Linked DNA regions of Homo sapiens: region 2 is linked to region 1. The links are contacts of gene promoters, found by promoter capture Hi-C in blood cells and fetal thymus (Javierre and others, 2016). All regions are on one chromosome and are shown on one strand. The core of a region is centred on a gene start or on the middle of the fragment in contact, and the rest is flanking DNA. Distances in the headings are between cores, read along the strand shown. Region 1 holds the start of TASOR2 (transcription activation suppressor family member 2). Region 2 holds the start of KIN (Kin17 DNA and RNA binding protein).

The links. Contacts are between HindIII fragments. The CHiCAGO score rates a contact against its expected background, and 5 or more counts as called.
Region 2: the fragment with the promoter of KIN here is called in contact with the fragment with the promoter of TASOR2 in region 1 in 1 of 17 cell types (monocytes); the score reaches 6.2 in monocytes.

The regions. Positions count from the first base shown.
Region 1 is chr10:5,683,344-5,686,455 of GRCh38, forward strand. It overlaps TASOR2 (transcription activation suppressor family member 2), which reads left to right and starts at 1,495. Exons shown (of 22, transcript NM_001321783.2): 1 at 1,495-1,832. RefSeq lists enhancers at 1,049-1,288, 1,429-1,538, 2,159-2,338 and silencers at 1,589-1,848, 1,889-1,938. The HindIII fragment of the contact is 4,285 bases long and covers 1-3,112 here.
Region 2 is chr10:7,786,293-7,789,404 of GRCh38, forward strand. KIN (Kin17 DNA and RNA binding protein) reads right to left here and starts at 1,701. Exons shown (of 13, transcript NM_012311.4): 1 at 1,528-1,701. The coding sequence starts at 1,641. It overlaps ATP5F1C (ATP synthase F1 subunit gamma), which reads left to right and starts at 1,885. Exons shown (of 10, transcript NM_001001973.3): 1 at 1,885-1,971. The coding sequence starts at 1,916. RefSeq lists enhancers at 1,654-1,973, 2,426-2,969. The HindIII fragment of the contact is 3,793 bases long and covers 1-2,867 here.

The sequences.
Region 1 (3,112 bases), core at 245-2,744:
TCCAACAGTGATCTTATATGATTATAATAGAGCTGAAGAGTTCTATTGCCTAGTGATGTCGTAGCCATCTTAATTTCGTACAGCAACACATTACTCATATGTTTGTGGTGATGCTGGTGTAAATGAATCTACTGCACTGCCAGTCATATAAAAGTACAGCACACATGGCCAGGCGCAGTGGCTCCACCGTAATCCCAGCCCCCCAGTGGGACAAAATGGAGGTGAAGACAATGATGTTGATGATCCTGACCCTGTGTAGGCCCAGGTTAATGTGTGTTTGTGTCTTAGTTTTTAACAAAAAAGTTTAAAAAGTAAATTAAAAAAATTTTTAAATAGAAAAAAACTTACAGATTAAGGATATAAAGAAAATATTTGTGTACAATGTGTTTGTTTTAAGCTAAGTGTTATTACAAAAGAGTCTTAAAAAGTTTTTTAAAAGTTTTAAAAAGTTAAAAAGTTACAGTAAGCTAAGGTTAATTATGAAAAAATTTAAAAAAATAAATTCAGTGTAGCTTAGGTGTACAGTGTTTATAAAGTCTACAAGAGTGTACAGTAATGTCCCAGACCTTCACATTCTCATTGCTCACTCACAGACTCACCCAGAGCAACTCCCAGTACTGCAAGGTCCATTCGTGAGAATGCCTTACACAGGTGTACCATTATTTTTCATACTGTATTTTTATTGTACCTTTTCTATGTCTAGATATGCTTATACAAATACTTACCATTGTGTTATAATTGTCCACAGTATTCAGTACAATAACATATAGCATGGGTTTGTAGCCAGGAGTAATGGGCTATGGCTTATGGTGTAAGTATGTAGTAGGTTATGCTTCTAGGTTTCTGTGATGTTCACTCAAGGACCAAATTGCCTAATGAGGCATCTCTCTCATAAGGTGTCCCTACAGTTAAATGATGTTTGCATGACTATTTATCATGGGCAAGGGTAAACCTGAATTTATTGATGGTCACCTTAGCTCTCTGTGCATGTGTTATAAATTTCTAGAGATGCTTTCCTAGGGGGTAACAGCCACACCTACTATATGGATTAAAACAAGGGCAAAATTTCCAAAATGTCGCATTCGGGCCAGACAAATAAACTGTTCTTGCAGCAGCACCTGGGGAATGAAACGCTGAGAAGGGAGAAGGCGCCCGAAGGCGACCACGTGGGCCACAGCCACAGCACTGTAGGTCAGCCGAGAGAGCGTCTCCCGCCTCTTCCCAAGGGCATCTTCCGCCTCCTGTCAAGGGTCGGCAACGCGAGACACCACGCGCTCGTTGGGATCGGCCGCCTAATCAGGAGCGAGCTGTGGCCTTACGCCTGCGCAGAGGGGAGACGCGAGCGCCGCGTGGACGCTGACCTCGGTCCGCGCCTGCGCCTTGGTTTCTTCCCGGCGATTGGTTCCCATCTCTGAGGGAGACGCCTCACTTCAGTTTTCACTTTCTTTTTTTGCCCCCCCCTCCCCTTTTCTTTTCCTTTGGCCGCGAGGTTTTGCTTCCGGTTGCTAGCGCCGGTCAGAGAGAAAGTCGGCATGTTCTCGCAGGCTGCCGGGCGTCCCGGGGTTGCCTCTTGCCCGTGACCCTGACGGGAGACAGAGCGCGGGCGGCCGCGGCGTCCCTGTCAGCGCCCGCGGCGAGGACCCCGGGGCTGGGGCGGACGGCGTGCCCCTGAGGGGGGTCCCCGCGGGAGCGCGGAGCCGGCGACTGGTGCTTCCCACGTGCGCCGGTGTCGCGAGGGCCCGGGAGGACGCAGAGCACGGCCGGGAGAAGCATGGGAAGGAGGCCGAGCCGGGATCTCAGGTCCTCGGGGGCGGCGGCCACGCCAAGGACGGGTAAGTCCCTCCTCGGCCTGGGCGCCCGGGAACCCTGCGAGGAGGACGGCGGGTCCCCGAGGCCGAGCGCTCGGGCAGCTGCCGGGGCTTGGCTGCGAGGGTCGACGCGTTCTCCTTGCCTTTTGCCGCGCTCCGGGTGAGGGGGTGGGAGGGGTCGGCGCCTTCTAGATGACTCAACCTTCTGTCCTGCGCTACAACCTGTGGCCGCGCTCGGTGTCGCCGGCAGGGAGATCCTAACCGTGTCATCTTGCCCCTTTCTGAGGCGTTTCGTTTGCGTCGCCTGTCAGGGGACAGCTGCGTCCTCAGGGATATGCTGATAAGTTCTTGGCTGAAGTTTCCGTCTTCGGGTTTGCACCGGCTGGGAAATCATTTCCTGCGGGTTCTGCGTGAAGCCTGCTGCTACTCGAGACTTCATGGCAATGCGCCACCTTTTCTTTTTAGGGTAAAACAGGTCTCTCCGAAGGGAGGGTCATTTCAGCAGCAAGCGCAAGCCGCGTTGGGATAACTTGGTGCGAGCAACACAGAAGTTTGTCTGAAGGCGGCGCCAAGCAGCGTTTCGTGGGAGAACTGGGTTGATGACTGAAATTTTGAGGAAGATTACTTTGGGAATTCTCAAGTTTCTCTTAGTCGCTTCTTGTCTATTTGAAATCTGTAACTTTAAACAAACCACGCTTACTCTTCCTTATTCTCCCTGTAAGGTACAATTAGAATAGAAAAGTTTATGAAAGTGTATCCAAAACTTAAATATGTGGCGTACAAGTGTATGGTATTATTGGAATGGCATTCGCGATCCTAGAGTCTACAGTGTTCCCTGAATAAAACTAGGGGTGAGCCTGGCGGTAATCCTGCCTAGGAGGTTTATAGCAAAGCAGTGTCCCCTAACGGTGCAAGAATACCCTTCTGTCGAAAAACTGCCTTATAGGAATGGGTGACTGTATGCGGTATGTCCTGTACTGTACATCAATAAATAACTAAGCCAGGCCAGAAAAAGGGTGACAAAAGGTCCACAATTATGTTAAGGAAGACCAAGACGGTATATTTGAAGTTTTGTGTATACAGAACATTTGCCCAAATGTAACTAATTTTTTTAAAGGGAGATTATAAGCATCTCCTGTGGTCCAAACATAGTTGTTAAAATGGGTTAAAATCGGTGAAGTGCCTAAGAACTTGACTGAGACATGGTGTTTGTTAAATACAGTATACTATCTATTCAGTAAAAATAGATCAATATGGCATGTATTTATCAAGTGAATTTCATTTTTCTGTTGGTAGACATTCAA
Region 2 (3,112 bases), core at 451-2,950, 2.1 Mb after region 1:
ACATATACTATGGTTATATAGAAAAGTATCCTGAAATTTTAGAGATGCCTATTTAAGTATTTAAAGGTGAAATATCCTGATATTGGTATTTACCTTAAAATATTTTTTAAAAAGTAAATACGGCAAAATTACTTAAAGTGTTAAGTCTGGGTGTTACAGACTGCATGTCTGCGTCCCCTCAAAGTTCATATATTGAACCCTAACCCCCAAGGGAATGGAATTAAAAGGTGGGCCTTTGGAGATGACTGGATTTAGATGAGGTCACAAGGGTAGAGCCTGCATGATGAACAGGGTGGGACCGTATCTCAAAAAAAAAAAGAGGAAGAGAAGTTTCTATTAGAGCTTGCTCTATCTGCTTTGTGAGGATAGAGGCAGTTTCGCAAACCAAGAAGAGGACCCTCACTAGAATCTGACCATGCCAGCACCTTGATCTTGAACTTCCCAGCCTCCAGAACTGTGAGAAATAAATTTCTGTCATTTAAACCACCCAGTCTACTGCACTTTATATGGCAGTCCAAGCAGACTAAGACATTAGATAATGCATATACAGGTATTCCTTAATAGAACTAAAGAGAGTAACTGTATCAATATTAGTATGAGTCCTACCTAAAATACCTCTTCCTTCACTTGCAGAAACACTGGATTAGATTATTCCAATTGCCTCAGTGTTCTTCCACCCTTACCCAATCCAGTCCAATCTCCGGAGAAAAATATGATCACATCACTAGCCTGCACAGCATTCAATCAACCACCTCTTTAATGGGGAAAAGTGTAAATTCCATAGTGTAGCCATATAAGGCTTTTCGAGATCTGCCCAGACTCCTTGAGCCACTCTATATATACTTCACTCATTTAAAACTCAGCGACAATCCTACAAGTAGGTGAAATTATTATTCCCTCTTTACAGATAAGTAAAGGGGAATATAAGTAAATAACTTGCCCAAGACCACACGGTTGGTAAGTGGCCCTGCTTGACTTTAAATTTTGACAGTCTGATATATCCATAAACCAGATAAATCCATAATTTTAACCACAATATTATTCTGTGCCCGGTACAGTGTAGGTGCTCAATAAATGCTTGCTAGATGAGTAGTGTGGAAGAGCTTAGCTCTCCTTTTTCACCTGATCCCAAAAGAGGAGTGAATCCTAACCACCCTGTTTCTCTTAAGAGTCAAGTCAAGTAAGAGCTGATGACTGTTACTGGCATTGCCCGGGCGTCTAGTATTGCAGTATCCCCGCCCCTGTGAGGGGTGCAAAACCTTTTCTGATTTCATTTCTTTGGTGGTGGGGATCGGACTGGGGAGGAATGAGGGGTCGCAGAACACAGGCTGCCCGCTGGGCCCGGGGGCTGCGGGGAGGGACGGCTCTCGTGCGCTGAGTAGTTGACTCGCCCACTGCAGACCTCAGAAGCCTCACGACCCGGACCCCGGGAGCCCCAGCCCCGCGCCCTCAGCCCCGCGTCCAGGACCTGATCCTGGATTGCCAGGGGCCCTCCTGGGAAGACGGGGCCACTCCGGGCCCACTCACCTCGTCCCGGCACTGCTTCTGGCACATCTGGCAATACCAGCGTAGCTTCTGCAGCCCCTTGGACTTGATCCTGTTGGCGATAGCCTTGGGAGTAAGAAAATCCGACTTCCCCATGGCGACCACGGCAGCGATCACTTTCTGGACCCCAGTACTCAGCCAGCCGGAAACGGAACCGGGCTGGCGGCGGTGGGCGGGACAAATCCCAGCTGAGAGGCGGAAGGAGGTGGGGCCTGGGAAGACTGGGTTGCAACGGTCGCGAGACTCCCCTCGCCGTAGCGCGAAGAAACGAGACTGAAGAAGAGAGCAAGGTGGGAGGGGCGCGCTGGGGAGCTTCGGCGCATGCGCGCTGAGGCCTGCCTGACCGACCTTCAGCAGGGCTGTGGCTACCATGTTCTCTCGCGCGGGTGTCGCTGGGCTGTCGGCCTGGACCTTGCAGCCGCAATGGTATGGCAGCTTGCGGGAAGATCGGCAGGACCGCAAGGGATGGAAGAGCTTGGGCACGGGGCAGGGAGGAGGAGATGGGCGCGGGGGCAGATGTGGGGTCGCAGGGCCTAGCTGGGCCCCTGGCCCGTCGGAGGCGCCGGGTAGCGGGGGCTGCAGGAAGCGGCTCTGAGGTCGGGCAAGGTGTGCGCAGGGCCGGGCTCCGGCGGAGCAAGGTCCCGCCCGGTTCCCTGAGGTCGGAGGGCCACCTGGGACCTCGGGACTGCGGCCTGAGTCCAAATTGACGTCTGGGCGGTCTTGAGTTCCCTCAGCTAATCAGCACTTCCTGAGCTTCCACTTCCACTGCAAGCCAGGCCCCCAGTCTCAGGGCCTGCAAGGTGACGGGAGCCTGAGCAATAGCCCAGGGGAAGGTTAAGTCGTGCTTTTTGTCCTTGACGCCCTTTGAAACCCTGTAGTGCTGGACAGAGTGACCCTTTAAGATTCGATCGAGTCAGAGAGCGCGGCCGTCGAGCACCTCCCGTGTTGCAGACGCTTTGCTGGGTGCTGCAACAGCAAAGGCGAACATCCTAGATGCCTCTGAGGGTGGTTTTGGTGCAGAAGGGACCGTACAGATCTGTCTGAGGGCGGGGAAGGGAAGGACACCTAGCACTACCTTGAAACCACTTGCTGAAACCGTAACCCTGCAAGGTCATGAAATTGCCCCCAGGTCCTGGGGGAGGAGTTCGGTGGGCTTTTAAGTGGCATTTGTTAACTGACATGCAACTAAAGGGTGCCACGAGCCTCGAGAATTTTAAACATTAGTTCCGGGTAGGGGGACCTGGGCTGGGGGAAGTGCATATTAGAAGGCCCGGGAATGGGCAGGTAAAAGTTGGTTTGTGGGTGGTGCTGTTCAGTTTTGAAGCTTGACGGAATCTGGAAGAATTCCAGACACGCTGCTAAGGGGATTCTAGGCTGTGTCGTAGCAATTCCCTGCTCTTAACAGTGTGGAGGATTTCTAAGGCGCTACAGTGCTAAACTAGATTTTCGTATCCTAATTTATATGAAGGGACCATAAAGCATTAGTTGAAATAAATAGGTTTTTCATTAAGCAAATAACTGATAGTAATATACGAGATTTTCAGAATGATATCTGATGTGAATTAGC